4 separate regions of the Homo sapiens genome follow, and regions 2, 3 and 4 are each linked to region 1. The links are contacts of gene promoters, found by promoter capture Hi-C in blood cells and fetal thymus (Javierre and others, 2016). All regions are on one chromosome and are shown on one strand. Each heading gives the region's core, a stretch centred on a gene start or on the middle of the fragment in contact. The rest is flanking DNA. Distances are from core to core; before and after follow the strand shown. Region 1 holds the start of FAM135B (family with sequence similarity 135 member B). Region 2 overlaps COL22A1 (collagen type XXII alpha 1 chain). Region 3 overlaps COL22A1 (collagen type XXII alpha 1 chain). Region 4 overlaps COL22A1 (collagen type XXII alpha 1 chain).

Region 1 (7,832 bases), core at 2,852-5,351:
CAGACCTTAGCTACCCATGAAGGCCAGACTCTGGGGCATGGAACTTATTCTGGAAGTCCAGAGTCACTCCTGAAGGATCTTAAGAGGAAGAGGATGGGATCAAAGTTGCATTTGTAAAAGGTCCACAGGAGGTATACAGAAGAGTATGAAAGGGGACAACACAAGATTTGGAGAGATCAGATAAGAAATTATTTCAGATAAGAAGCAGGATGGTCCTGGGTCAAGGTGTGGCTAGATAAGAAAGTATAACTAATAAACATGGCACCCAGACACCTCTTCTATTTCTTCAACTAATCTCAGTATTGAAAAAGATCATAATAACAGCTCACGCCTATATAGCCCTTCCTTGGTCTGAGGCAGGGTTCTAAGTTTCAATCCATTTGCATCCACATGTGTTCATTCATTTAATCTTCACAAAAAAGCTCTGAGGTCCATTTTATTATTATCCTTGTTTTAGAGAAATGGGAACCGAGATGCAATTAGGTCACACTGCATCTTTAAGGACAACAGGAAGACAGCAGCGAAGCCAGGGTTCCAGGCCTGGCAAATTGTTTCCTCTGTGTCCTTCTATTAGCGGGAAGTGAAGTTGCTCCCTCTTGGCGTCTGTTCTTCCTGAATTGTCCTCAATCTGCCGGGGTTTGCACACAGTCCAGTCCCCAGGGAAGCTGCTCGGACTTTCTCTCCGATATGTAGAGCTGTGGAGTCCGATTAGCATTTTAGGACAGTTGCTTCTTGCTGCCACAGGATGTCACCATTGAAAACCTGCCTTCTGCAGGAAGAAATGCTGGCCCACTTGGCTGTGATCCCTTGCTCACCCTGAAGGGGCTCAAGCCCCTGTGGTCCCTATGACGGAGGACAACCTCACACCACATCCTTGAAACCCACTCAGCCAAAGCATCTCAGGGGAGCTCCCCAGACTGTACCTCTCAGCACTCAATTCTTTCAAGTGGGCTCACCTTCCACCTGCAGCAGAACCAGGGCCTGGATTTGGCTTGTATCCATCTCAGAACCAGTGTCCATCTGTCCTATCTGTAACTGCTCATGCCAAAACACCATTTCTCTTGAAAGACACGTCATCACTCATGACCCCTTTTTGAAGAAGATTTTTAAAAATCTCTCAGGGATCCCCTGTCATAGATGACTCTGAGAGCTATTTACATGGTGGAATTGGCAGACGTTGGCAATTAATTCGGTTGAGGGAGATGAGAAGAGTCGAGAGAACGGGAGAGAGGGAGAGGTTAGGAAGCCTAGGATGATGGTAGGTTTCTGGCTTCTGTGATTTGATGGGCAGTGGGACATTTTCTTGGTGGGAGATAACAGTGGAGGGCTATTGCTGCTTTTGAGTCAGTTCCACCAAGGCCCAACCTGGGCAGTGGCAGAGGCTTTCCCTTCCAGACCTCCCCCAGGCCCCAGCTGTTCAGGGCCTTACCTTGCACAAGGCCCATTCATTAAGAGGACAATGGGTAAGGGGATCTCGGGGCCAACAGTGCATCACTGCAGCTGATTGATTAATGTCATGCCGGGCAGTCCATGAGCACAGTTTGAAGAAGACTTTGCAGTCATAATTCATAATACTATTTTACCACATGGGGAACAAGGATTGGGGGCATCTCTGGGGACATAGGGTCTCACTGGCACACGTTGCATGTTGCCTTTGAGGTTATTTCAAGATTCACTGAGATTCTAGTCATGGATTATATATACAGATTATGTGTATATGTATATATACACACACACATACACACACATATACACACATACGTATGTGTGTGTTTATATATATGCACATACACACTTACATATATGTGCAATTTCTTTTTGGCTTAAACATCAAAATGTTTTATAAAAGTGTATGTTGAGGTCAAGTGCAGTGGCTCCCACCTATAATCCCAGCAAGGCTGAGGCAGGAGGATCATTTGAGCCCAGGAGTTTGAGACTAGCCTGGGCAACATAGCCAGACCCCATCTCTACAAAAAATAAAAACCTTACCCAGGCATGGTGGTAGGTCTACAAAAGATAAAAAACTTTACCCAGGCATGGTGGTAGGTCTATAAAAAATAAAAACATTACCCAGGCATGGTAGTCCTACCTACTTGGAGGGGCTGAGGTGGGAAGATTGCTTGTGCCCAGGAGTTAAAGGCTGCAGTGAGTTAAGATTGTGCCACTGCACTCTAGCCTGGGTAACAAAGTAAGACCCTGTCTCAAGAAACAAAAAAATAGTGTATGTCAAAATTCTCACTCTCACTCTAACCTCGTCAACCTAGTTCTTCCACCCATCTTCACCCTCATAGCTAATAGCTACTTCTCCAAGTTTCTTACATAGCCTTCTAGCGTATTTTTATGCCAATGCAAGCAATACAAATATGTGTATCTGTCTCCTTGTTTCACAACAGTTGTCTTATTTTAATATTATCTTATTTTATCTATTCTGCACTTTGCTTTTTCACTTAATAAATCATGGAGCTGTTTTATCCAGACAATACATCCAATACAAGTAAATCCTATGCTCCTGGCATATCTCTACTGCTGGGGACTAGAAAATGCAGAGGAAAATAATGAGTGCTTGCACTGACTTTCAAAAATAAGGTTGCATAAAAATGCAATGTCAATAGCAAAATAAATGCCATATGGTTATGAACACATTTAAGAGACAAATATTGTAAAAGAAAAGCACCCATTTTCTCTATTGAGAAATTCATATTTATTTGCCATTCACCAAACATTTACTGAGGGTATGCATTGCCCTGGGCTTGCTGGGTGCTGTGGGGAGGACAAGCAGGGTAGATAGCTCAGAGCCTCCATCTGCCCAGGCCCACTATGTCAACAGCCTCCTTAGGACACCTCTTTCTGCAGCCTTAATCCCCACCCTAGCCAGCACCACACACACTTCAACTAAGGTGATCTTCCCTTCATTCCCACCCAGCCTTTCTCCTGCTTAAACTGCTTCACTGCCCTCCTCCCCACCACCTTCCCCATTCCCTTCCCATCCTAAGGGTCACATTGTCAAATTCCAACCCCTTCACTTGGATCGCAAGGCCTTTGGTGTGCAGTGCCTGCCCTGTAAACCTCACCACTCGCCTGCCTCACCTCTCCTTGCCTGCTGCTGCTAGGTTCCTGCTGTTCTGTCCTGCCTCCAGGCCTCTGTACCCTGCTCCTCTTGTCCTGGAAAGAGCAGTCTTCTCTACCCTTCACCGCCCCACTCATTTGTTCTTATACCTTTTTTTCAGGTATCTTTCCCCAATTACTTGCCCCTGCCCCCAGCCTGACAGGGTTAGAGACTCCTCCTGCCAACTGCAATTGCCTGGTTCCATTCCCTGCTTCCTCCTGGGGTGTGAGTTAGTGCAGCCCAGTCTAATGGGGGACATAGTCATCCTCTAATGCCTGGTTCCATTCCCTGCCTCCTCCTGGGTGGAGTTAGTGCAGCCGAGTCTAGTGGACGGGTCACTGGGCTTCCGAGTCCCAGTCTTGGCTCCTTCTCTAAGGCTGTTTTGTCATCTGTCACAGGCATGCCACGAGAACTTGCCAGCACAGTGGTGGTGATAATTAGAGTTCCCAATGCCCCTTAAGAATGCTCAGTAGACGGGAGCTGGCTTAACCCTCCCCAATCTTCCTCTCCCTCCTCCGTGGACAGAATCTCACACGTCTGTGAACCCCCACGTTCAGCATGAAGTGAGGAGCCCATCGGATGACGGGCCGGCTGGCTGGTTGAAGGCCACTGCTGACTTCGCATTGGAGGTATGGGTTGCTCAGCGCTTTTACCCTTTCTCAGGCATCTACTTGTTGCCTGGGCTTCTCTTCCAAGTTCAACAGTCCCCTCCCAGCCAGTTCTCCGCCGCGCCCCGCCCCCGGATATCTGCAGGGACCCTTTTCCTGCCCGAGGCCTGGGGTCTTGGCTCGAGAGGGGAGCCCCGCCGCGGGGACTGAGCATGCTCGCGCCGGTCAGTCTGGGAGGGCCGCACGCGGGGCCGCAGCCTGCGCCCTGGGCACCCGGGCGGCCGAGCGGGCGGGGTTTGGCCGCCGGGCGGCCCGCCCCGGGCTCCCATCAGGGCCTCGCGGCGGAGAGGGACCGAGGTGGGAGCGCGTGAGCCGCGCCGCCAGCCAGTCGCGCAGCGTCTACCCACGCGGTGCGCAGCGGCTGCGGAGCGGAGCCAGCGGGAGCAGCAGGGCGGGCTCTCCCGGCCGCGAGGGCGCGCGGCGCGGCGCGGAGGGTCTGGCCGCGTCCCGGCGGAGGAAGGAGAGGAGTGAGGGCGCCAGAGGTGAGCGCAGCCCGGGAGGCGCCAGCCCAGCGGCGCGGGCGCAGCCGGTCGGTCCTTGCTTTCTTGCGGCGCTGGCGGCTGCGTTCCCCCGACCGCGCTGACAGCCTCGCGTCCTGGCGCCTGCTCGCTGGGGCTGCCCGGAGGCCGCGGCCGGGCAGCTGTTGCACGGAGAGGGGGGCAGTTGCGGGGTTCCATAACCATAGCAACCGCATCAGCACCGGCGGCGGCGGGCGAGGGCAGCATCCGCTCGCTCCTCCTCCAGGCAGCCTCGCCGCGGGGACCCAACACCAGCTCGCAGGTGCTGCGGACTCCCCAGTCCGCCCGCCGCCGCCGCCGCCGCAACTGTTGGCGGCCAGAGACGGCGAAAGAGGAGAGAGAGGGACCCAGGAGCGCGGCCCCCGGGGGAGAGAGAGGGGAGCCCTGCAGTGGAGACAGGTAGGTGAGAGCGCTTCGGGGTCGGCAGCTGCAAAACTCTCTCGTCGGTGGTAGTGACGCTTCTGCAAGCGTGGTTGCCAGTTGGATGGCTTTCTGTCACGGAACAGCGATTCCGCCGCAAAATGTGGTTTATCTCCCTCGATTTTCCCCAGTCTCTCTGCCCTCCAGGTTTGCTGCACATCTGGACAGGTCTTGAGGGGATAAGAAGGGCCAGGGCTGTGAAAGGAGCGGAGAGGCTGGGTTAATGAGGGGTTCCCCCCAGGAGTCCCAGATGGAGGCTGAGGGGGCGCATGCAGACCTTGGCCATTGGGGTCCTTGGAGCCAGGGAACCCGGGGGCCAGGCTCAGGAGAAGACCGCACTGGGGTGGAGGGGACAGTGGCAGCGATTCCCTGTGATCCAGGCGAATGCACAGACCCGTTCTTCCTGTGGCTTGGCTGGGGACAGGGGTGTGCGGGGACACTGCAGCTCAGCTGTGACATGGAAAGGGACCAGCTCTTGATCTGTAGAGCCAGCTTCAAGCCCAGTCACTGGAGGGGATGTTTAGACGAGGCAAGTAGTAACTGTTATTATTTTGGGACACAGGAGTATCATGTTATTGCCGTTGACTATTAGGGATAGGATGGGAATAGAAATAAAATTTTGAGCTAGCAGTCAAGACTATGCCCTCCCCTTCTCCCCACCTCATTTCTAGCTCCCCACCCCACTTTGCCAGCAAAACAAGAATCACATCGCTCATAGTGACAATCCTTGCTCCTTGGCCACTGGCAAACTATCTCGCTTTCAGACAGCTGGAGACACCGCTTCAGTTGTCCATTTGAACCAGGGGGCATTGTTTTCCATCAGGTTATGATGCTCTTGATGTTAAGTGATGTGTCAAAGCCGAGAGGCACCTGGGCTGTCCATACAGTGTGATGGACTGTTAACTACATCTGCAGGCTGGAGAGAGGGCCAGAGCTTGGGGAGTGATTACAAACTCAGATCAGCTGGGACCAGGGCCCCGGAAGAAGGAAGATAGCATGTGAATAATTAGGGTCTGAAAGTTCGTGCATGTAGGTAAGTAGGCCTCTGAATAATATCCAGGATAGGCAGCCATTGACTTTGAAAGGGCTCTTCCTTTATATCGTGGCCTCGGGGGACAGTCTAAGTCCCAGTTAAAAGGCTATGTTCTTTAATTGGGCTTTTAATTTATGGTGTGGTTATGTTACCCAAGGGGATGTGATTTGGCCAACCTCTCATCTGGAGATTTATGTCATAATATGGATGATGTTATCAGAGCTTAGACAGATGGTTAGGTGTAGAGGAAAGTGGACCAGATTGGAGGGTCAGAAAACATGGATTTGAACTCTGATTTCCTCATGCACCTGCTGTGTGACCTTGAGTTGTTCCACCTCACTGAGGCTTCTTTCTCTCATCTGGAGAATGGGGATACTAACTAACAAGTCTTGCAGTTTACCAGGCTCAATCACAATCCAATGGGATGTGGAGAGGATGTTTGGGAAGGGCTTTTTAAAACCTGATGTCTTGTGCAAGTAAAAGGGATTATTGTTTTCTAAAGAATCTCTCTTCCTCAGATTGGCAAATCATTAAACATCCATCAACTACGAAAAGAGAGTGGAAATATTAGTCAGTGACTCACAGTGGAAACACTGTAGTCTGGTCCAAGATTCACTCAGGGCAACATAAAGAGGGCTTCTCAGGGGAAAATGCTGCATGCCATCCACCTTGCCTACAAGTGCTGAAGGTCAAGTGCTTTGCCATCAAATGCAGCACTCGTCTAGTTTGAAACAGTGAGGCCTGCTCACAATGGGTGGATTAAGTTTTTTTTTTTTTTTTACAGTATAAACAGAGATTTAGACAGAGTAGGGACTCATTTAACTGTTCACCTCGGGTTGTGGGTTTCTCGTGGGCAGGATTACTTTCATCCAACTCTGCTCTGTAATGTCAGGTGTTTACCAAATATTTGCTCAATTTGACTGAAATAGACTGAATGCTGACAGGTTGATTTTATTGCTGAAGGAATTATAATTTCTGGAAGGAACCAAGACTGTCTTATACTATTCTCTGCTCTTTTATGCCCCTGATTTTGCTCATGGTGGTGTCCCTGCCTAGAATAACAATTTCTCACTTCTTTCTTCCTTTAACAACCCAACTCAAATGCCCCTTCCTATAGGAAGCTTTCCCATATTCTCTCATGTGCTCCCACAACACTCTGGACCTCCTTTGTGATGGACTGTGCTGTGTCATCGCTTGCACACATACCTGTCCTTTCTGTTGATTTGATGCTTCCCAATGATAGGTGCCTCTCCCTATCTGACTTTGGTTGTGGCTGCAGCACCTGGTGCAGCCATGGCCATGATGAATGGTTGTTGAATGAGTGAATGAGCCTTACTTCTAACATGACCACCTGTGCAGACGTAGGCTGCAGAAAGGCCATTCCTGGCTGCTTTTGCCATCTCGGTCTGTGTGGCAAGCCTGGAGGATGCTCCATGGCTTGTTGTGCATTATTTAGGGTCAACCCACTGAGGCAAAGTGAAGGAGAACAGAAGCACATATTTTGCTTTAAAATGCTCATTTTTTTTCAAGTGGGCACTTTAGGATAACTGAAATCTGGTGTTGAATGGCCTTCATGTAACATTTGCTGAAAACATCTGATGGAATATTTTAAACTTGAAATATCTTTTTCTCGCTTCAATTTCTTTCCTTGATTTCAGCTCCAGTATAGTAAAAAAGCACAAGCATTGGATTAAGATAGCCTAGATTTAATCTCAGTTTTCAGGGTACCTGGAACTAGTGCACTTGATTGTCTTGTGCCTCAGTTTCCTCATTCATAAAGTGTGGATGTGAATACCCATCTCACAGGGATGTCGAGTTTTGGAGCGAATTAATAGCTGTGCCATAAAAGTAGTTCATTAACTGTAAAATATTAATACTCTAAGTAAATTTGTTCTTTTCCTTAATTTTCGTCCTAGAAAATGAGCAAAATCCTTGTCTAATTTCACAGCATCACATGGGCTTCAAATGCTGGCTCCTTCACTTACTAGCTCTGTGTGACCTTCAGTAAATCATTTTGCTCCCCCAGCCATCTGCCTTATCTGCATAGCATTGTAATGATAGCCACCTTTCAAGATAGATAGGCAAAT
Region 2 (7,832 bases), core at 1,928-4,427, 220 kb before region 1:
GGAGTGCAGTGGCATGATCTCGTCTCACTGCAACCTCTGCCTCCTGGGTTCAAGCCATTCTAGTGCCTCAGCTTCTCAAGTAGCTGGGATTACAGGCATGCCCCACCACACCTGGCTAATTTTTGTGTTTTTAGTAGAGACGAGATTTCTCCATGTTAGCCAGTCTGGTCTTGAACTCCTGTGCAACTCCTGACCTCAGGTGATCTGTCTGCCTTGGGTTTCCAAAGTGCTGGGATTACAGGCATGAGACACCATGCCCGGCCTGTACTGAATCTTTACATTTCCGCAGAATTTAGTTGCGTTCATGACTCCACAGCTGCTTTTTGAGAAAATAATACGCTAGACATAAACCTCAAACTTTATTGTTTGCAATTATAAACTTACAAAGAAGATAATAGTATTGGAGTTGACACCTTCATCTCACTATCCATCCGTCCATCCACCCTTTTGTGCCTGTGACATGCAAGCACTGCCTGAGCTCCTGTCCTGTGCTGAGTGCTCTGTGTCGCCTGTTTACGTTCAATCTCTCTCTGAACACCACTGCCCCTTTCACAGGTATAATAGACATGATTAGCCCAGGTGTGAGGGCAATGGAGGCACCAGCGGGGTGTGAAGAACGAGCTGAGCAAAAACCCCATGTGCCCTGACTCCTATATCCTTTCCCCTGCATCGTTCATGAGCCCAGCGTGTCATTGCTTGTGTGGTTGACCCTGGAGCCAGCCTGAGTCCAGGCAGACTGTATCTAAATCAAGGGGGCATCATGGCATTTGTGGAGCCCTACTGTGTGCCCTGAAGTGCACAGAGAGGCTTCGTTGGCATTGTCTTCCAGGCAGACACCATGTCCATCAGGAGCAGCACAATCAAAATGGACAGTGGAAGAGAATTCAATGACAGAGTAATTGCAGGTTGTGGACAGTGCTTAGGGAAGCCGATGGGATGTGGCCATACCCTCCAGGACTAGGAAGAGCAAGAGTGGGAAAGGACAAGGGGAGGGAGCTGTCCCAGAGTCCAGAGAGGCTGGCAGCCATAGAAGGAGCCTGGCAGTCATTCTGGGCAGAAAAACAGACAAAACCAGTTCTCCTTGGCCTGACATCCTCAGCATCTCATCCCGTCCTTCTCTGTCCTCTCCATCTCCTACTAGACCACTGGGATCCAGGGGATGAGGTCAATGAGACCACTGAGGTTGCCTCCTGGGATGGAGAAAGGAACAGGAGTGGATATAAAGGGACAAACAGAAAACAGCCACTGGTATCCATAAGCGTGTTTTGCACGTGAAAAGAGCTGAGACTCAGAGAGATTTTGATACACGCCTAACCTACAGAACCACGGGTGGGACTGCATGGCCAGCCCAGCCCACAGGGTCTGACTCTGATTGCTTTGGAGGGAGGCTCCAGACTGCCACTTGCCTTTGGCAACATGCGGGCAGGTTCAAGGAGGAAGAATGCACTTTTTAAATCACAGTGTAACAGAGGATGTATGCCTACTCTCTCCAACCTTCTTTTACAAAAACAGGTTGGAGAGTATGATGAACCCTAACTTGGCACACGTGGTCCGGGAAGGAAAGTCCCTTACTATTTTCACCTCCTAAGGACTTGGATCCCTGGTCCCAGCCCCTTCTTAGAAGAGCAGCCCCCACTCAGGAGCCAAGCCAGCACCCAGGATAGTGTCTGGTCTAGAGGTGCAAGTAGGTACTTCATCTATAATATTTCAGCTCATGTCAAAGCCCCAGAGAAACCTGTGCTGATCAGAAAACATAATGGAATTTTTAGAGATCTGCTTGGTGAGACAACTGCAGTTGCATGAACCCCCTACGGCGGGGCGGTGGGGGTGGACTCATAGGGTGTGATGAGGTTTTGTTGTGGATGGAGTCAGGGGTGAGGCTTTAGACTGGAGTCAGCATGATTTGGTCAGAATTTGTCCACTGGAAAATCGCTGATTAGTTTGACACATGCGTGAGCTGTTGCCAAAACCGCACATGCACGAGATGTTTGTCCACGGGCCTATTTGTCTGAAACACAAGATCCTTTGCTAAAGCAGAGTGAGCTTGAACAGCGTGCGGGGAAATCATGGGTTCCGTATACTCAGTATGTTTTGCAAGTTGCAATTTCTTGAGTTTTCCGTTGCTCACTCTGGTGATCTTCATAACAATGAACTATGAAGTCATTTTCGTCTTAACCCCCAGTTTATAGGTGAAAGAACTAAGGCATAGAGAGATGTACTGTCTTACCCACACTCACAGAACCAAAGCTTGGCTGGGACCACATGCTGACTCCAGGCTAAAGCACCGCCCCCCCACCCCATCCACGACAAAACCTCATCACACCCCAGGAGTCCACCAGACATAGGGGGTTCACACAACTGTAGTTCGTCAGTCGAAGGGCTCTTTTGCCAAGCAGGTCTCTAAAAATTCCACTATGTTTTCTGCCCAGGCTTACAGAGTGAGGGTGGGTGTGAGTCCAGACAGTTGGGCTCTAAAATACGTGCTTTCAACCACAATGACTGACATCCTTTCTACTAGATTCTAACTTGTGCTTCTAGTTCTTACCCTTTCACCAAAGATACGTCCATTTGCTCTGACAGTCATTGTCTAAGAAGACTGATAGAACACGTACCCTCTGCTGATAGAACATGTACCCTCTGCTGGTAGAACCCTCACTCTCTGTTTGTAGAATACTTACCCTCTGCTGGTAGAACCCTTACCCTCTGCTGGTAGAACACTTACCCTCTGCTGATAGAATACATACCCTCTACTGATAGAACATGTACCCTCTGCTGATAGAACATGTACCCTCTGTTGGTAGAACACTTGCCCTGTGCTGGTAGAACCCTCACTCTCTGTTTGTAGAATACTTACCCTCTGCTGGCAGAACCCTTACCCTATGCTGATAGAACACATACCCTCTGCTGATAGAACATGTACCCTCTGCTGAGGAGAACATATGCTCTCTGCTGGTAGAACCCTTACCCTCTGCTGATAGAACACGTACTCTTTGCTGATAGAACATGTACTCTCTGCTGGTAGAACACATACACCCTGCTGATAGATGCTGATAGAACCATTACCCTCTACTGGCTCTAAAGGGGGTACAGGCATGGACAGGGTTGGGAGTCCCACCCTGAGTAAGGTGCTGTACCAGGCACTTGCTTTTCTTGCTGTTTCATGCTCAGTTCTGACCAAATGCACCTCTAGTTCCACGGCAACTTTATAAACACCTGCCCCAAACCCCTCATAGGAGTTTATTTGTGCTTGCCTGCAGCTTAGTAGAAAGAGCACCATTCTTGGACCCATAATGCTGGCCTGGAGTATGGTCCTGGTTCTATCTGCTGTGTGGCATCTTCCCTGACCTTCCTGTGCCTTGGTTTGCCAGTCCAACAAGGACCCTCAGAGTTGTTAAAGAGCATAAGGATTTCCTGTTGGTGGATGACTTGTGGCAGGCTCACTGAGTGCAGGACTGTCCTGAGCACCGTCTGTGTAGGGACTTAGGTAATCTCAGGCCAACCCCATGAGGGGTCACTGCTGTCAACAACATCCCCACTTGATAGATGAGGAAACAGAGGCACAGAAAAGCTAAGTTGCTTGTGCAGAGCTGCATGAATAGAGGTTTAGAGTCAAGATCTAAACCCTGCCAGTGCACATAGAAAGTCCTGGCTCTTAGCACAGAATGCCACACGCTAGGCCTGCCCTGGGGCTGCCTCAGGAGGAATGGCACCCACACACCCAGAGGGCTCTTGCATCCTTCCTCCTCCTGCATGATGCTTTTCAGGGTGCCCCATTCTCCCAAGTTTACTTTCTCCCCTCCAATTTCCAGATCTTTTTCTGCGCAGGTGCTTTCTGGGCTCCAGGCAGTGTCTCCCATCCTCCTTCTCTGGGGCTGGAGGCTGAGGACTTTGCTCCAGGCAGACTTGCGGTCTATAAATAGAGAGCCCAGAGTGGAAAAGGCTCTGCCTCAGTAAGCCATTCAGGCCTGCTGCTGCCGTGGACTTTTCAGAAATGCAGTTTCTATTTGAGAAACTCATTTCCAGAATGCAAAGGCTTAGCGAGACCATAAAGCCCCTTTGATTACTTGGACGGAATTGCCAGGGCCATGGCAGTCACATTCAAGCTTCCAAAGAATCTGGTTTGCCTTTCTTTTCCTCCAGAGAAATATGTGATAATTGACAATTTTGGTCAGAAAATCCAAAAGAAGACATTAAGGCAACATTGCCCTCTTCTGACTGTGCTTTGCCTGTCTCTGCCTCTGCTTCTCCCTTCACGTCCCCTGTTCTTCCCCATTACTGGCACTTAGGCCCACAGCATCAGGGAAGGGTGTGTGTGATGCTCCTGTTCCAGCAAGGGGCGCTGACAGTCAAACACGTCATGGAGGAGCTGGGATTAGAACCCAGGCCTGTTGCATCAACCCTAACACCCATTGATCCTTCTTAGTCAAGCCTCTTTTCCAAAGGCAGAGAGCCCCCATGGGTCTACCTGCTCCAGCTCGCTGTTCTTCCCTTGTCCACAGCCCTCAGGATGAGGAGGCTATTTCCAAAAGGCAGTCTTCATGCCCTCAGGGTGAGAGACACATCTCTCCTCCAGCCCTCTTCTCATTGATACCCATTCATATATTCAACTGGGAAAACACTTAACTTTGATCATTGGGACATTTTAATGGAGAGTAAATTGGTTTAGATGAGATTGGTTCTGGAGCTTGAGTTCAACAATGTCAGGAAGAGAATTGGGTAAAATCAAATAATACACAGTAACACCAAGAAAGTGCTTTTGTTTCTGAAGCTACTGGAACTTTAGTCAGAGCAATGCCACACAATTGTAAAGGGCATGCATTCTGAGCTTAAAACCAGGTTCGGCCATTTGCAGAATGTGTGACTTAGGGCAGGTTCATTGACATTTTTATGCCTCAGTTTCTTCATCTGTGAAATGGAGATATATATATATAGATAGATAGATAGATAGATTATGGGCATTGCTACAAAGATGAAATGGATTCACACATGGAAACTACTTAAACCAGGAGCTGGAATCAAATGCTAAATAACAATAGAAATAATGGTAGAAAAGGATACAACATTTTATAATCATATTATTGTTGTTGACTAAGGGCGAACTTGTCTCTCTCTAAGCCAACTATATTCAAACATTTTTCTATTTCATAACCATATTTGGAAGGCTTGCAAGAGAGCCAGTCCTGGGCTGGTTCAAGAAGCAGATCTAGACATAGACACCTGTCCCCTGGGACCATGTGGCACACATGAAATGACAGGCTTTGGAAACTGTATCCACTCACCATGGACTGTCTTGCGTGGAGCAGCTCAGTGACGTCCTTTCCTCAGGCCAAATGTAATAACACCGTACTCCTTACGGTCTTGCTCAATCTCTGTGCCATGCTGTGAGCTGTATGTATTATCAGCATCATTGTTCTGCAAAGAGAAAACATGCCAAAGTAGGTAAAATAATTTATAAAATGGTATAGTTAGGTTTCAAGCTCAGGTGATTCAACTCCCAAGCCTGTGTTGCTTATAGGAATGTAACACTGTTCCCCCCAGGTTCCTGAGAAGAGCCCACTCCTTCATGGGGGTGGGGCAGGGCCTGCTGGCATCCCTAGGACAGCTGGACTTCAAATGTGTAATTGTGCTCAGGGCATGTGTGTGAGGATATTTGCTGTAACAAATCAACATTAGTTATGATTGCAATCAGAGGAAAACCACATAAATGTCATCAACAGGAAGATGGATAAGAAATAACTTTATTACCTTTTTTATTATACTTTAAGTTCTAGGGTACATGTGCACAAGATGCAGGTTTGTTAGATATGTGTACATGTGCCATGTTGGTGTGCTGCCACCATTAACTTGTCATTTACATTAGGTATATCTCCTAATGCTATCACTTCCCCCTCCCCCCACCCTACTACAGGCCCCAGTGTGTGATGTTCCCCACTCTGTGTCCAAGTGTTCTCATTGTTCAATTCCCACCTATGAGTGAGAACATGGGGTGTTTGGTTTTCTGTCCTTGCGATAGTTTGCTAAGAATGATGATTTCCAGCTTCATCCATGTCCCTACAAAGGACATGAACTCATCCTTTTTATGGCTGCGTAGTATTCCATGGTGTATATGTGCCACATTTTCTTAATCCAGTCTATCATTGATGGACATTTGGGTTGGTTCCAAGTCTTTGCTATTGTGAATAGTGCTGCAATAAACATACGTGTGCATGTGTCTTTATAGCAGCATGATTTATAATCCTTTGGGTATATACCTAGAAATGGGATGGCTGGGTCAAATGGTATTTCTAGTTCTAGATCCTTGAGGAATCGCCACACTGTCTTCCACAATGGTTGAACTAGTTTACAGTCCCACCAACAGTGTAAAAGTGTTCCTATTTCTCCACATCCTCTCCAGCACCTGTTGTTTCCTGACTTTTTAATGTTCCCCATTCTAACTGGTGTGAGATGGTATCTCATTGTGGTTTTGATTAGCATTTCTCTGATGACCAGCAATGATGAGCATTTTTTCATGTGTCTGTTGGCTGCATAAATGTCTTCTTTTGAGAAGTGTCTGTTCATATCCTTTGCCCATTTTTGATGGGGTTTTTTGATTTTTTTCTTGTAAATTTGTTTAAGTTCTTTGTAGATTCTGGATATTAGCCCTTTGTCAGATGGGTAGATTGTGAAAATTTTCTCCCATTCTGTAGGTTGCCTGTTCACTCTAATGGTAGTTTCTTTTGCTGTGCAGAAGCTCTTTAGTTTAATGAGATCCCATTTGTCAATTTTGGCTTTTGTTGCCATTACTTTTGGTGTTTTAGTCATGAAGTCCTTGCCCATGCCTGTGTCCTGAATGGTATTGCCTAGGTTTTCTTCTAGGGTTTTTATGGTTTTAGGTCTAATGTTTAAGTCTTTAACCCATCTTGAATTAATTTTTGTATAAGGTGTAAGGAAGGGATCCAGTTTCAGCTTTCTACATATGGCTAGCCAGTTTTCCCAGCACCATTTGTTAAATAGGGAATCCTTTTCCCATTTCTTGTTTTTGTCATGTTTGTCAAAGATCAGATGGTTGTAGATGTGTGGTATTATTTCTGAGGGCTCTGTTCTGTTCCATTGGTCTATATCTCCGTTTTGGTACCAGTACCATGCTGTTTTGGTTACTGTAGCCTTTTAGTATAGTTTGAAATCAGGTAGCCTGATGCCTCCAGCTTTGATCTTTTGGCTTAGGATTGTCTTGGCAAAGTGGGCTCTTTTTTGGTTCCCTATGAACTTTAGAGTAGTTTTTTCCAATTCTGTGAAGAAAGTCATTGGTAGCTTGATGGGGATGGCATTGAATTTATAAATTACCTTAGGCAGTATGGCCATTTTCACAATATTGATTCTTCCTATCCATGAGCATGGAATGTTCTTCCATTTGTTTGTGTCCTCTTTTATTTCCTTGAGCAGTGGTTTGTAGTTCTCCTTGAAGAGGTCCTTCATGTCCCTTGTAAGTTGGATTCCTAGGTATTTTATTCTCTTTGAAGCAATTGTGAATGGGAGTTCACTCGTGATTTGGCTCTCTGTTTTTCTGTTATTGGTGTATAGGAATGCTTGTGATTTTTGCACGTTGATTTTGTATCCTGAGACTTTGCTGAAGTTGCTTCTCAGCTTAAGGAGATTTTGGGCTGAGATGATGGGGTTTTCTAAATATACAATCATGTCATCTGCAAACAGGGACAATTTGACTTCCTCTTTTCCTAATTGAATACCCTATATTTCTTTTTCCTGCCTGATCGCACTGGCCAGAACTTCCAACACTATGTTGAATAGGAGTGGTGAGAGAGGGCATCCCTATCTTGTGCCAGTTTTCAAAGGGA
Region 3 (7,832 bases), core at 1,800-4,299, 190 kb before region 1:
GATTCTGCCTTTTCCATGTCGAGGCCCAAGGTGTCCGCTAAAGGACCAGCTTTAAGATTCACCATAAACACCAATTTAGACTTGAACATTGTTCAACAAAACACTCCATGACATCTAGTCAAGGGCAACAAAGCGTTTTTCCCCTACAATAGATTTAGGTCAGTCTTGTTTCTTCATCAAGCCTTTATAGGTAATAAGCATAGTAGCTTAGAGGACTGAGCCTTTATACATGCCAGGCATGGTACTAAGCACATTACATGTGTTCATTCATTTACTCTGCACAGCAACCCTGCTGGAGGAATATGTGTTCATTCATTTAATCCACACAGCAACCCTGCTGGAGGAATATTATTATTTTACATGGAGGCTTCCTGCAGCCCAGCCTGCATTCTTCTGGCTGGGAGTCTTCTCTGGCCTCTAAAGAGTATGTTGTTGAGCCACGTGATGGGTGGCCAGCAGCACCACCAGCAGAATAGCTCAGATCACTTGTTCTCAGCTGTCATCGCTCTGAGCGTACGTCCTGCACAGGATCCCAGAGTCACAGCAGGACAGAGCTCCAGTGGCCAGCAAGTGTATTTCTTGCTGCCTGTTCTCCCCTGCTTTATTTATTTTTATTTTTATTTTTTGAGGTGGAGTTTAGCTCTGTCACCCAGGCTGGGGTGCAGTGGCATGATCTTGGCTCACTGCAAGCTCCGCCTCCTGGGTTCAAGTGATTCTCTTGCCTCAGCTTCCCAAGTAGCTAGGATTACAGGGGCGTGCCTCCATGCCCAGCTAATTTTTGTATTTTAGTGGAGATGGGGTTTCACCATGTTGGCCAGGCTGGTCTTGAACTCCTGACCTCAAGTGATCCGTCTGCCTTGGCCTTGCAGAGTGCTGGGATTACAGGCATGAGTGTTCTCCCCTTTTTGCTTCTCTGTTTCCCTACTATTGCATCCATGGGACGCTTGCACTTAAACCATGTCTCAAAGTCAACCTTTTGGGGACTCCAAAGACACTGTTGGAGCAGATGCCCCAATGCTAAGGCTGGGTTCTTAAGGCCATCCTCATCTTCCCAGAGTGTTCACTGTGCCAGGCCACGCCTTCTGATAGTTCACATTCCAGAGCAGGCGGTAAAGCTTCCAGCAGACCATGCCTGCTGTTAAGAGCTCTGATGTGCACTGTTACAAGGCCAGCCCCCCCCCCGGGAGAGCAGCAGTCATGGGCAGGGAGGAGGTGGAGCTTTGGGGAATTTAAATAAAGTATGGGAATTGGGTGGGAGCTGTAGTCGTTGACTTCAGGGGGACCTGATGATTCTTCCCTGGGGGTCACGAGCCACCAAGAGTGACCAGTCATCTTTAAATTCACCATGTCCGTAATCTTCCTTGCCACAGGGTGCTCCCGGCCTCAGAGGCACCCCAGGGAAAGATGGGGAGCGTGGTGAGAAGGTAAGACCAATATGATCTCTCAGCACACAAGTGAATATCCTTAACTTCTTACAGGCACTGAAGGAGCAGCTCACTCTGCTCGGGCCTGGTTTAGGAACCAGCAATCAGAAGGGGTTTACTAAGTAGGAGGGAGAGGAAGACTGTGCCATCCCATTGGCTCATTTATTCCTCACAACAGACCTGAGAATCAGACAAGTGCCCATTAGACAGATGTGGAGACTGAGGCTCTGAGAAGTTAATTAGTTTGCTCTGTGTCTCATAGCAAATAAGCTACAGAGCTAGGTCTGTCTGACTCCAAATCCTGTTTTCTCTCAATTCAGTGCACCAACTTATCCATTATACACCTATGCTCACACACGTAAACCTTCCCAAGCTATGAGATTTTTTTTTTTTCTTGAGACAGGGTCTCACTCTGCCACTGAGGCTGGAGTGCAGTGGTGTGATTTCCACTCACTACAACCTCTGCCTCCCGGGTTCAAGCAATTCTCATGTCTCAGCCTCCTGAGTAGCTGGGATTACAGGTGTGCGCCACCATGCCTGGCTAATTTTTGTATTTTTTGCAGAGACGGGGTTTTACCATGTTGCTCAGGCTGGTCTCAAACTCCTGGACTCAAGTGATCCACCCGCCTTGGCCTCCCAAAGTGCTGGGATTACAGGTGTGAGCCACTGAACCCAGCCTGAGATTTTAATTATTAATAAGAGAGACACATGTTCCCATACCAATTAAAAAAAAAAAAAACCCAGAGGCCAAGAAGGAGAATCTACACCCTTTTAAGTTCCATTCTGCATTTCTCTGACATAGCACCTTAGGAAATGTCTCTGAGGTTAATTGGTGACACTGAGCCAGGGCTCAGGAAATCAGACGTACTCATTTGAATGATTCAGCGTTTGGACCTGAGTCAAATGCCAGCTCTCTTGCCCTAGTTGCATTGATATAAGCTAGGGTGACAAAAGTGATTCTCAACAGGGGGTTTTTACCCAGGGAGATATTTTTTGTTGTCACCACTAAGGGGAGTAACTGCTCCTGGCATCAGTGGGTAGAGACCAGAGAACCTGCTAAAAACCTCACAGCACATGAGACATTCCCCTTATAAGAACGATCCTCCCTGAAGGTCAATAGTGCCAAGGTTGAGAAACCCTGATCTAAATAAAGCACACTCTCTTTGAACCTGGATTTTCTCATCTGTAAAATGAGGGTGATGCCGCATTGATCATAGGTTGTGAGGATTAGCTGAGGAATTGGGGAGTCATGTGCAAAGGACTCAGCAGATAACAGGTGACAAGGGTACCATGTGGTTGTGTCCTGCCCTCCCTGCGTGAGCAGATCACACTAGTATCCATGGACAGGAAGAGACGATATTGGGGCATGGATTGTCCACAGAGGTCCCTCCTAGCACACACCTGGCCAAACTTCTTAACATGAATTCTTTCAAGTTCAAGTTCATCTACTTGGTGCCTTTTAAAGAATCACTTCAGTTCTTATGTTTTTGCATAATTTAACACGAGGAGATGTCATTTGCCTTTTTGCAGGAAGGTTCAATTTTAAGATACACGTCTCCCAGAAAAAAAGAACTTAGTGCAGAGAAAAATGATCAACACATCTATGAAGACTCTCTTGGGTTTTTGGAGTGTTGATCATAGGCTTAATAATAACCCTATGGGCCGGGCGTGGTGGCTCACGCCTGTAATCCCAGTACTTTCGGAGGCCAAGGCAGGCAGGTCACTTGAGGTCAGGAGTTCATGACGGGCCTGGCCAACATGGTGAAACCCCATCTCTACTAAAAATACAAAAATTAGTTGGGTATGGTGGCACATGCCTGTAATCCCAGCTACTTGGGAAGCTGAGGCACAAGAATCGCTTGAACCTGGGAAGCGGAGGTTGCCTTGAGCTGAGATCACATCACTGCACTCCAGTCTGGATGACAGAGTGAGATTCCATCTCAAATAATAATAATAATAAATAATAATAATAACAAACCTTATGTAATACAGGTACAAACATTCATTTTTTGAAAAGAAGATAATGCCATTTCAGACTGCCTAGATTAAGCAAAGGAAAAACATCTGGATTCATCTGGTATTCCTTAATTATACCATGTCTGAAGGACGGCACATTATAAGTAGGACATTGGTAACCTGGAAGGGGATGGCCTCTTAGGAGGACTAACAGGTGCATGTTCAGAAACCAGAAATCAGTGGGCTATTGCCACATTCAGCCTCTAGAGGGAGCCAAATGCCTTTCCTTGGCTGAGCAGAGGCCCAGGCTGAGGGCCGGGCCCGGGATTTGGAAAGGAACCTCCAGGGCTCTGCAAAGTGGTAAAAATCCCGGACATCACAGCATACTTTTTCCCTCTCACACCATGTCCAGGGGCTGGCCTGCGGCTAGGGGAAGCTGATCCTGCTCCAGGCTTGGAGAGAGGCCCTCTCCATCCTTGCTTTGCATATCCTTGGCTCATCTTACCTTACCTCTGCTCCATCTGAGAATGTCTGGAAACACTGTGATTGCAGCTTCCACCCAGGGCAGCCCAGTCTGGGGAAAGGAGTCCGTCTGGTTCGCGGGGCTCAACCCAGTGTTCCACAGTCAGGGCCGCCACAAGGGCTGTTCAGAGCCCTGTCGTCAGAGAAGATGAAGCACTGGCCTGGAGCAAGCTCAAAGCCCAGGTCCTCAAGCCGACCCCGGTGCCCATGCTAGCACTCTCACACTCTCTCTCTCTTGCTCTCTCCATTGCAGCTTTAGGCTCTGTTCTTATAGTTGAAAACCTAACTGTAAGAGGGATTGGATTGTATCTACAGGGTTCCAGGGAACAGACTTAGTGTCCAATGTTGGGAAGATTTCAGAGAAGGTTGAGTATAAAGAAATGTTGCATAACAGAGCTACCTGACAAAGGAATGCCCAGTGTGGAGTGGTAGTGAGGTCTCCGCTCCCAGAGGAGTTCAAGCAGAAATGAGGGCTGATCTGTAAGAGATGCACCGGAAATAGATTTGCCCGCACTGGGTGGGAGGTCGTCACTAACGTCCTTTCCTTTTCCATGTTTTGCATTGAGTTGATTGACTAAGGCTGCAGTAACAAAGTATCATGAACTGGGTGGCCTAAACAGCCAAAAATGTACTTTCTCCCAGTTTTGGAGGCTGGAAGTCCTCAGTCAAGGTGTTGGCAGGACTGGCTCCTTCTCAGGGCTGTGAAGGAAGCATTTGTTCCAGGCCTCTCTCCTTGGCTCATTGGTGGTGTCTTGTCCCTGTGTATTTGTGTCCTCTTGCCTCTATGCATGTATGTCCAAATGCTTCCTTCTTTAAAAGACGCTACTCATATTGGATTAGGACCATTGGGGAGGGTCACACTCCAGTATGACCTCATCCTAACTTTAATCACATCTGTGCATTGAAGTAGTAGGGGTTAGGACTTCAAGACACGAATTTTGGGGAACACAATGTAACCTATAACACACATTACACAGTCCATCTTTCTGTGTCCCAGAAAGCATGGGCCTTCTAAAATCATAAAGGCAGCCCCAGGAAACCTACAAACCTACTCAAGCTGCTCCCCCATAGAAAAGCTTCGTGCTGAGTGTAATTGACCCTGGGAAATGTCTACTTTTCTTTCCAGGGTGCAGCGGGGGAAGAAGGCAGCCCAGGGCCAGTTGGTCCCAGGGGAGATCCTGGTGCTCCTGGGCTCCCTGGGCCACCCGGAAAAGGGAAGGATGGAGAGCCGGTAAGTGGAAGGTCGGGGGTCCCAGTGCCTGTAGAAACCAGGTGAAAATTAGAGAAGGAAAAGGAAAAAAATCTAACTGCCAAACTTTGCAGAAATTGAACCGTGGCCAATGAAATGGGCCTGGTTGGGAAAGGGGTTCAGGCTAGGGCAGCACAACCTCATGGACTGCTGGCCACATGCCAGCCTGGGCCAGTGCTGGGGATACAGAGATGGATGAGACAGGCTGCGCCCTGGAGATGCTCCCATCTCATGGAGAGACAGTCAGGCAAACACATCCCCACAGCTCAGGACAAGTGTGGTATGCGTAAAGAAGGACTTCTGGTCTACTCTGGTGCTTTCAGCCAAGACTTCCAAACGTAGAATCATGGTTTTCATTGTGGCTGTGAGTGCCAAAGCCCTTCAGCCTGAAGTGAAGGTTTCAAAGCCTGCTTTGAAACGAGGCCTTGCCCCTTACTTGCGCAAGTCTATACAATAAGGCTCTTCAATGGGAAAGCAAACTGAGAGAGGCTAAGAGATTTCCTGAAGGCCACACAGAGACAGTAGGAGGCAGAGTCGGAATTCACATCCAGGGCCTTGTGGCTCAAAACCAGATTCTGTTTCTTTTGTGCAAGTCAGGTCATAGTGAGTCTCACCCATCTCTGGGTCCCCAGCAGAGGATGCAGTCAGCCTGGCACGTGGTGGATGGGTCAGTGTTCACTCTCAGCTCCATGATTGTCCTTGTATTATTTATTTCTCCAGGGACTCCGTGGATCACCTGGACTCCCTGGACCCCTAGGAACCAAGGTGAGTGCTTGTCCAAGAAAACTGTGGGTGCCACGAGTTGCCGTTTGAAAGAGAACGTGGAAAAATTGATTATAAGCATCTCCGGTTACCTCAGTCCACTTCCATGTTTCTCAGCTCATCGTGTTCCATTTGACTAAAGGTTCTAGGACTTTTTTTTTTTTTTTTCGAAATCTTACTCTGTTGCCCAAGCTGGAGTGCAGTGGTGCGATCTCAGCTCACTGCAACTTCAACCTCCTGGGTTCAAGTGATTCTCCTGCCTCAGCCTCCAGAGTAGCTGGGACTACAGGGATGCACCACCATGCCCGACTAATTTTGTTTTGTATATTTTTAGTAGAGATGGGGTTTCACTATGTTGGCCAGGCTGGTCTTGAACTCCTGGTCTTGTAATACCTGCCTCGGCCTCCCAAAGTGCTGGGATTACAGGTGTGAGAGAAGATAGAACCAGTGCACCCAGCCATTTCTATGACTCTTAACTGTTACATTGAAGTAGTTGTCATATAATCGGTACTTAATAAATACTTACCATTAAATGAAGTGGTGGGAGACACTGACTTTCAATCGGCAGAGCGATAGGTCTAAGCAGTCTTGAATTATGAGTCTCATTGTGGTACCAGATGATTCTAAAATTTCAGAGGCTTAACACAGTAAAAGTTCATATCTCATGGACACTAGGTCTATGGGAGTCTTGCTGTGGGGAGTTCTGATCCACACAGCCATTCAGTGGTCACGTGTGAATCCCATGGCTCTTCCATCCTTTAGTTTCAGAATCTTCTACCAAATTCTTGGGGTGCAATAATAAGTAAAGGAAAAGAGAGTGGAGAACCCTGTGGGAGGATTTTATGGGCCAGGCCTGGAGATTGCTAATTCATTTCCACCAACACCTAGTGACAGTCACACAGGGGAGACTGGGGCATGTCGTCTGCTGAGGCACACAGGAGGAAAAGAGAAATGCTTGCTAAATACCAGCCAGTCTCTTCCTCAATTCAGTTGCACCCACAATTCAGAAACTATGACCTTTTTCATGGGGAAGTGTTCTTAGGAGAAATTTCCTGAGTGGACAGGGAAGTTTCCTAAAATACCTTCTACAATGAATCATTCATTCATTTACGCATCAATTACCAATCAATTACCAATGCATTCATTACTTTATATACTGCATGTCTGCTGAGTTTCTTACCACATGTGTAAGATTTTAAGGTGAGCTGTGGGATGACAACAGTGCATATCATGTGTTTCAGGACCTCCAGTGGCTCACGGTTCAGCCAGGAAAACAGATATGTCAACAGACGAAAAGCAGATGAGTGCTAGGAGAGAGGGTAGCTCAGGGCACATGTGGGCTCAGAGGGGGCTCGCTAACCCAGCATGGTTTCATTACCATGGCTTCTTGAAGAAGGAGATGTTTGTCCTGGTTTTAAAGTGCATGTAGGGCCGGGTGCGGTGGCTCACATCTGTAATCCCAGCACTTTGGGAGGCCAAGGCGGGTGGATCATGAGGCCAGGAGTTCAACACCAGCCTGGCCAACATGGTGAAACCCTGTCTCTACTAAAGGTACAACAAATTAACTGGGTGTGGTAGTATGCGCCTGTAATCCCAGCTACTTGGGAGGCTGAGGCAGGAGAATCGCTTGAACTCAGGAGGCGGAGGTTGCAGTGAGCTGAGATCATGCCATTGCATTCCAGCATGGGCGACAGGGTGAGAATCCATCTCAAAAATAAATAAATAAATAAAAATAAAATAAAGTGCATCAGCAGTTAGCAGGGGAAGAAGTTGAAGAAGGAGTCATTGGCAGGGGAATTAACAGGGAAAAAGACACTGAGGCATGAGGCAGAATGTGTTCAGAGAAGAGCATGAGCTCTAGGTATGCCCATATCCAGTGAAAATTATTTGACTAACTCAGATGCATCAACTTTTAAAAA
Region 4 (7,832 bases), core at 3,686-6,185, 140 kb before region 1:
TGTTTCCATGAGAGAACTGTGGGGCACTGGACCCCCTGAAGGACCCTCCTAGATGGACCTGCCCCTCATCCTTTATTTACTAGATGAACAAACTGAGACCAGAGAGTGGACATGATATGCTTAAGAATGCAAAGTTAAGGGATGACAGGCATAGAACCACAACAAAGATTGACCTACAGTCACAAACCTATTTAGTGCATAATGCATTCTTTTAAAGGAATTGAAATGTTTTTGTTTTAAAAACATTTTGCTGAAACACACTTATTAACACAATAAAGGCAGAGCTAAGGTAGATAATAGTTAAAGAATTTGAACCTTTGGATGTTACTTTCTTGGGTGGTCTGTGAAAAGTATTTTTGGTAGGTTGTATATTTTGAGCATCTTGATGACCATGATGATGATGACAATGGCAATAATGATGACAATGATGATGATGAGGATGATGGTGATGACAATAGTCATGGTGTTGTTGATCATTATGATGTAGACGATGATGATGGTGAAGATGAGGATGATGACGGTGATGGAAACAGTGATGATAATAGCTCTGGTGGTGCTGATGTTGATGGTGATCATGATTATGATAGTGATTATGGTGATGATGGTTATGGAATAATAATGATGGTGATGGTGATGATAATGATCATGATGATCATCATGGTGATACTGACAATGAGAATGATGATAGCTAATGTTTTTTTGAGAGCTAACACACAACCTGTCATAAGTCTAAGCACTTTGTATATTTTAGGTCATTTAACTCTCACAGTAACCCCATGACAAAGATACTATTTTATGATTCTCATTTTAGAAGTAAGAAGACAGAGAGTTTAAGTATCTTGTCCAATGACACACAGTTAGCAAGTGGCAAAATAAAGAAGATAATAATTATGACTAAGATTTATTGAGCTTTTACTGTGTTCTGGGCTCTATGCCAAGTGTTTCCCATTTGTTATTTTATTCTCTAACATTTTCACAGGGTAGGCATCATTGTTTTCTTGTTCTTGTAGGTTACAAAACAAACGAACAACTTGAGCAGTTTTAGTGAAGTGGCTCCTCAAAGTCTCACAGCTAGTAAGGGAGGGAGCAAGGAACTTATGTATGGATAAATTCTTCCAAAGCTTCCCGTTTGGTGCTGCTGCTCCTGCTGGCCACCATCTAAACTTCTCCTTCTCCCTCACCCTCACACCTGTTCTGCAAGGCCTGCAGACCCTGGGTTTATTCTGCCTCTTTTCCTGCCACTCCTGGAACACCACTTGTTTTTAACTGACCCTTTTCTCTATAGCCTGGACCACTAGCCTATCCCACACTATACCCACAGCTAGAACCTAGGACAATTTCACATCCTTTTAATGGTTTCCAGTGCCTACAACTAAATCTAACATCAGATGTTGACATGCAAGGCTCTCAAAGAAATGAGCCCTGCCTGCCTCCCTGGCCCCTTTCCTGCTGCCCGCTCTCCAACCCCATACCCCAAATCCCAGTTAAGCCATTTTATCACACATCCTCAACCAGGCCCTGTTTCTATCTATCTGCTGCCACCGTGCCTGAGCTACCACAGGAACTTGATAAGAGATTTTTGGAGAATTAATGAATGGATGAATGAATGCATGAAAATGATTTTTGTTTTCCTATTAAAATTTCCAGTGACATCTTTCTTTTCTTTTTTTTCCTTTCAAGGGAAGTCAAGGAGAACGTGGTGCAGATGGTGAGGTTGGGCAGAAAGGTGATCAGGTAAAAATTTACTTTATAAGGAACCATTCACCCTGAGGAAGGAGCACTGTTTCTCCCAGGTGGCTTCCATTGTACAATGTCATTCCTTGTCTCTTCTTTGCCTGTAGCAGGATTTTTTAAAATCTCATTTTTATGGTTTTCATCTTGGTATCTCTGGTTCACTCTAAGTGCCCTCTCTCCCTCAATTATTGGAGAAGCCTCCCTGCCTTTCCTTTCCTTTCCTTTCCTTTCCTTTCCTTTCCTTTCCTTTCCTTTCCTTTCTTCCTTCTCTTTTCTTTCTTTTTGTACTATTTTACCTTTACTTTTTTTTTCACTGAAATGGACACTCATTAAAAAATTCCCCCTTCTTCCCTCCCATCATCTCAATTAACTGTTGCCTGGCTCTCTTGCTGCTAGCTGAAATGCTTCACAGATACTCCATGCTCTGATCAGATCAGTGCCCATCCAGGCCTGCTGGACCACTGCTCCTAATGTGCTATAGGATGGTACCAATAAGGGCTCACTGCTCTCTCTGTGGATCTGAGCATGGCCTACCTATCATCCTCTATCCAGCACAACCAGCTGATTTCTGCCCAGTCCAATTCTACCACCCTTCCTGCCAACGGAAATGACTGTTATCCTTCTGCTTTGCTGCTGTCATCCTTTTCCCTGTTCTCTTTTCTCTCCTCTCCCAGCTGCCCTCCCCTTTACTTCTCCCTCTCTTCTGCATCTCACAGCCAGTGCTCATTGTCAGCCAATTCCATGCCAGGCACTGCACCTGGCTCTGAGATCTGGAATGACTCGCAGACAAACTCCTGACCTCACTGGGCTTGCAGTTCAGTGAGGGCATGAGGGACATGAACGAGTAACCCACAGGCAGTGAGATGAGAGCAGTGCTCAAAGTCTGAATGAGCTCCTTGGCTAAAATCTCTTCTGTATTTGGAAAAACAAAATGTGTTTGGATTATTCTTATGAGAATGACTTATCAAAGGCAATGTACTCTACATTGAATGGTGTAGCCTGTGGTTTCAGTGGTAAGGCTTGGAGGTGGAGGGCAGAGAAATCATTTGTTTCTTGGTGGTTTATTTGGTTTCATAACATTGTTGTACAAGACTAAGTGTTAGATTCCAAGCTTTGTTCTATAACTTTTTCAGCTCATTCTATAATATGCAATAGACTCCTCTACACATGGAGAAACAAATCTCTTGCTTAAAATAACTGTAATATTGCCAGAATATGGAGGCTGTAATTCAGTTAACCTAACCATTTCCATTGTGTACATTGTGTTTCTGTGCATTTATTTGTTTTTTATGTTTTTATTATGAAACACTTCAAGCATATCTAAAGAATAAAGACTGTAATAAAATGAACATTTATGTACCCTGCACTTAACCACAACAGCTTTCAATTATTATGGCCCCTCTTGTTTTCATTTATGTCCTCAACCATTTCTCCACACCCCCTGCCCACACATTATTTTGAAGCAAATCCGCTTTCAGGACATGTTTGTTTTTATAAATGTTGTCAGTTATTATTGAGATATATAAAAAGAAGTCCCTTTTATTGTCAGTGTCTTTAAGCAAAATTGTTAGTAGGGTTGGAAGGTGGATTCTGTATTGTTTTCTGAAATTTGATATTTGCACAAAGTAAAAAGTATTTTTCAAGTCATTTTAAAGAATTGCATCTTGTGTTTTCCTAGGGTCATCCTGGAGTTCCAGGTTTCATGGGGCCCCCAGGGAACCCTGGGCCACCAGTAAGTAATCATCTTTAATCCCCTCCTCTTTCGGCCTTGACATTTGAATGCACATCTCAACTCACCAGGCATGGTATGACACTGAGCATATCTCTCATTTTAAGGGATGGCCCAACACCCAAAAGGTGACAGAGTTGTCCTAAAAATGCAAGTCCCACAGGCATGTGGGGGAAAGTGCAGACGGTCTGGAGTAGGCTTGATGGACCATGCAATTAGAGTGATGTTGGGACTGGGGGACATTGGCAAAGACAGACAGACTTCTTCTTTTTTCAAATTGAGCTTTGGTGGGTAGGAAGCTAGTATTTCAAGATTATGATGGCAAGCAAAGAAGGTAGAAAATGAGAAATTGTAAGCAGCTTTCCCCATGTTATGGGGAGCCTGTCTTGATATTATCTCAATGATCTCCACTGGGCCCCCTGAGCAAATGTTCTCTCTGCTTTTACAGTAGCTGTAGCCTTGACATTGACTGGTGCCCTTCTCACCATTTCCCTCTGCCTTCAGTGTAGGCTGCCCATAGATTAGTCATGTTCCTCCTCTGATCAGAGTCCACTGCTGTTGCAGCCCACATATCCATCATGGGTAGCCATGGCAACAGGCACTGGAAATTAGTGTTCCTGCCAAGCCCAGGACCAGTCCCCTGGGATTTCCCATGGGTTCCACATGAGACCCTTGTCCCAGACCTTGCAAGGAGAGGATTTCTGGAATGACTGAAAGACCACCGAAAAGGATCCCCCTTCAAATAGGAAATACCCTGTTTGAAAGTATAGTGAAAAGAAGTTCAGTTAGGAGTATAAATTTAAAATATATGAAATTAAGCTTGCTTTGTCATCTTTTTAAACAACTCAACTTCTAGTTGTTAACTGTGTGTTAATTAGTGGAATAAGTTAAGTTGTTTTAAGTGTATATTTTCAATAAAATCCGATGAAAGCATGACATGGCATCTTTCACTTCATGTTGACTTTTAGAGCAAACTCACAAAAAGGTAAATTATCTACAAAAGCACTATTCAGTTTCCCAGAAAGCCTACTTTAAGTCTTTAATATTCAACACATTTTCCTCCCAAGCGCCTTTGATGTTAATATTATTTTTAATTTCTCAGCCTCACATCTTACCTGGCCCAACTCTGCCATGTGCACATTTGTGAAGGATATTGTAGGGAATTTATCAGTTTGCTGTCATTTAACTTCACAAAATTCTACAATTCTTTCAAGGCTTATAATTTCACTTAGTAGTTGCTTTGCACTGTATTTGAATATTATTGGATTTTGTAGCATCTGACAATCAGCAAAAAGAGAAACTGATAATGATGCTGATACGATCAGTAGTAGGGAGAGGTGTTAGTGTTAAGCAAAGAGGGGCAATTGAGAGGTAACTAATTTTACTTAAAAAATAGTTTATTCACGAATAATTGTATATTATGATGACATTAGCTTCCTAAATGACATTGTGCTCCTTAACAGCTGAGGATCTCAGAAAATGAATAATGGATTACAGCCTCATCTCCACTCCACCCTGGTAGTTCCAAACCCCATAACATGTTCCCAATGAAACCAAAATCCTGATCTGTTCTCACTGGAAGCTGCAATAAGTTAGAACTCTATGACTGCTGTAGGAAATGACTCCTGGCTTATTATTCTCATGCTAGATGATGTATTGGAGGCCCAGAAACAATCATAATCAGAAGCCAGCTTGTCTGTCTCCAGCTGATTAATGCTTTCAATTCACTTGGCAGATGTTTATTGAGCTTCTATTTTGTGTCGTGCTTTGTACTGTTAATAGCCTGTGAGAATGGATGCTGAGGCAGCTGCCTGTTTAGGTTCAGCAGCCAATCATGCAGAAGCAACTCCACAGCAGAAAATTAACCTTTCTGGTCATGTATGCATTGTTTTAGTTTTGCTCTTTGTTGTTGCTTGTTTTCAAGTGCTTATTAATTGTCAGGCCCTGTTGGAAATATGCAGGGATATGGGTAGCGAGCTGACAAAGCCCTTTCTTTTAGTATTTATTTTCTGGTGCTCAGTCAGCATCCTTATTCCAGATAAAACACTTACCCCATCCCCATATGCAGTAGGGAATTTTTTTTCAACTTGGCAAGATTCCAGACTCTAGGATGCCAGAAGCTTTTTATCAAAGTTATGTGGAAAAATCTAGATTTGTTATATTAGCTTTGGACTACATATTTAATTAAAGCATGAACCTTAGGTTACTTGTTAAAATATTATCACTCTCCCTTTATTTCATGAACATTTACTGGGTCCCTACCTAGTAGAAGTGATAGAGACAAATCTGATTGCACCCTGCCCCAGGAGTTTGTCATACATGGAAAATAAGACAGGTCTTCTACAGTTATATCAAATTTCCTTGAGATCCAAGACCATGATGTAGTCATTTTTACATCTCTAAAATTTGGCTTGTACCTAGTACAGTTTAGGCGCTTGATAAAAGTATGCAACAATTAAATAAAGGCTGCTGGAAAGACATCAATAGAGTACTGCGGGAACTTGCTTATTTATGCTTTTATATTTAGTTAATATCTGCAGGATTCCTTGTTGTGGGTGGACAATAGACACTTATATTCATGGAAGGTCCCTATTGGACAGCCCTTAGCATTTCTCTGGTGCTAACTCCTTATGTGTCATGAATTCCATTTTCTCAACAACCCATGTAAAATAGGTGCTGTTCTTTTCCTTCATTTTACAAAGGAACTGAAATACAGAGGGGTCAAGTAGGTTTCCTAGGCTTATACAGCTGTTGAGTGGAGAAATGGGATATGGGCTCAGGAACTCGAACTCTAAGAGGCTGCACTCTTAACCAATACCCTCTCTTCTGTGCCTAGCACCTTGTAAGCATTGCCGCATTGCTCCTCCCCTTCCTAATGGCATGTGCAATTTCCAGCCTTTCACTGTGAAGGAAACTAAAGTTGAGAGATGTTACATGACTCAACCAAAGCTAGTAAGAGGCACATGTGTGAATTTGTCTAAAGAACTGCTGCCTTCATAACCCAGTCAGTTCAACTTCTAATTCATTCATTTATTCAAGAATATTGATTATTTACTATATCCCAGGTACTGTTTTAGTTCCAATGAGGAACTAAATTTAGTGTTCCAATGAGGAACACTAAATAAATGAGAAATCAATAAACACTAGCATGTCAGATTTTTGCAGGTGCTATGGAGGAAGGTAGACAGAAAAGGGACCTCCCCAGGGCAGGGATGAGGAAGGGTAGGTCTTTCAGTTTTGGGTCTGGTAGGCAGAAAACCTTTCACTGAGAAGCTGATATCTGAGCTAAGACCTGTAGGATGGGAGGGTATGAGGCTGTGCATATGTGAGGGACTAGAATGTAGGGGGAAGAAACAGCATATGCAAGAGTCCCCAGCAAAAGTGTGCCTGGAGCTCACTTTGAGCTGCTTGCTCGGCTGCATAGAAGTCTTCTTCCATTCATCCATCTGTGCATCTCTTCACCCTTGAGTTGACACAGCAATTGCCTTCCTAATCTCCTGGAAGATAAATCGAGTTGTCCATTTATTACTTTTTGTCCTGAAATGTTGCCTGATATTAGCTGAAAATGCCCATCCTGAAGTGAGTTCATTTACTGTTTTCAAAGGGGTGACTGCCTGGCTAATGCATTGGCCCGTCCTAAAATGTGGATGCTATTCTCTGAACATCATGTATTCCCAGAGAATAGCTCAGCCTGATGAAGAGGCAGAAGCACATTTGAAATATTTATGGTTCAGGAAGCTAGGAAGGGGCACAGAATGTAAGATCTGTGTGTTGCTATATTAGGATGTTTTTACATTGCTACAAAGAAATACCTGAGGTTGAATAATTTATAAAGAAAAGAGGTTTTATTGGCTCAGTTCTGTAGACTGTACAAGCATGATACCAGCATCTTCTTGACTTCTGATGAGACCGCAGGGAACTTCCCATCATAGAGGAAGGCCAGGTGTGTCACATGGCAAGAGCAGAAGCAAGAGAGTAAAGGTGGGGAGGTCCTAGACTTCTAAACAACCAGATCTTGCATGAACTGAGTGGGGGCTCACTTATCACCAAGGGGATTGTGCTAAACCATTCGTGAGAGATCTGTCTCCATGATTCAGTCACCTCCCACCAGGGCCCACCTACAATATTGGGAATCACATTTCAACATGAGATTTGGAGGGGACAGATAACCAACCATATCAATTGCTTTGTATTCAAAGCAGAGGGTGCTAATGACCTCTGTCTAGATGCACAAGAAACTAGCTTTCTGCCTTGTCTTTTTTAGGGGGCAGATGGAATTGCAGGAGCTGCTGGACCACCAGGAATCCAAGGGTCACCTGTAAGTTCCTCAAGGAATGGGATCTGTTTTTAATCTGTCTTTAGCCTTTCT

The links. The method cuts DNA at HindIII sites, captures the fragments that hold promoters and counts their contacts. A CHiCAGO score of 5 or more calls a contact.
Region 2: a contact is called between a fragment that was not itself captured here and the fragment with the promoter of FAM135B in region 1, in 1 of 17 cell types (M2 macrophages). The highest score is 5.1, in M2 macrophages.
Region 3: a contact is called between a fragment that was not itself captured here and the fragment with the promoter of FAM135B in region 1, in 3 of 17 cell types (M2 macrophages, M0 macrophages and M1 macrophages). The highest score is 13.3, in M2 macrophages.
Region 4: a contact is called between a fragment that was not itself captured here and the fragment with the promoter of FAM135B in region 1, in 1 of 17 cell types (M2 macrophages). The highest score is 5.1, in M2 macrophages.

The regions. Positions count from the first base shown.
Region 1 is chr8:138,493,530-138,501,361 of GRCh38, reverse strand. FAM135B (family with sequence similarity 135 member B) reads left to right here and starts at 4,101. Exons shown (of 20, transcript NM_015912.4): 1 at 4,101-4,691. The HindIII fragment of the contact is 6,997 bases long and covers 1-6,868 here.
Region 2 is chr8:138,707,707-138,715,538 of GRCh38, reverse strand. The region is part of intron 30 of COL22A1 (collagen type XXII alpha 1 chain); the gene reads left to right. Among named protein-coding and RNA genes, the nearest start is that of COL22A1, 200 kb to the left of the region's middle. The HindIII fragment of the contact is 1,856 bases long and covers 2,250-4,105 here.
Region 3 is chr8:138,682,509-138,690,340 of GRCh38, reverse strand. It overlaps COL22A1 (collagen type XXII alpha 1 chain), which reads left to right. Exons shown (of 65, transcript NM_152888.3): 37 at 1,371-1,424; 38 at 5,029-5,133; 39 at 5,872-5,916. Among named protein-coding and RNA genes, the nearest start is that of FAM135B, 190 kb to the right of the region's middle. The HindIII fragment of the contact is 3,863 bases long and covers 1,118-4,980 here.
Region 4 is chr8:138,630,644-138,638,475 of GRCh38, reverse strand. It overlaps COL22A1 (collagen type XXII alpha 1 chain), which reads left to right. Exons shown (of 65, transcript NM_152888.3): 48 at 1,681-1,734; 49 at 3,413-3,466; 50 at 7,728-7,781. Among named protein-coding and RNA genes, the nearest start is that of FAM135B, 140 kb to the right of the region's middle. The HindIII fragment of the contact is 1,301 bases long and covers 4,285-5,585 here.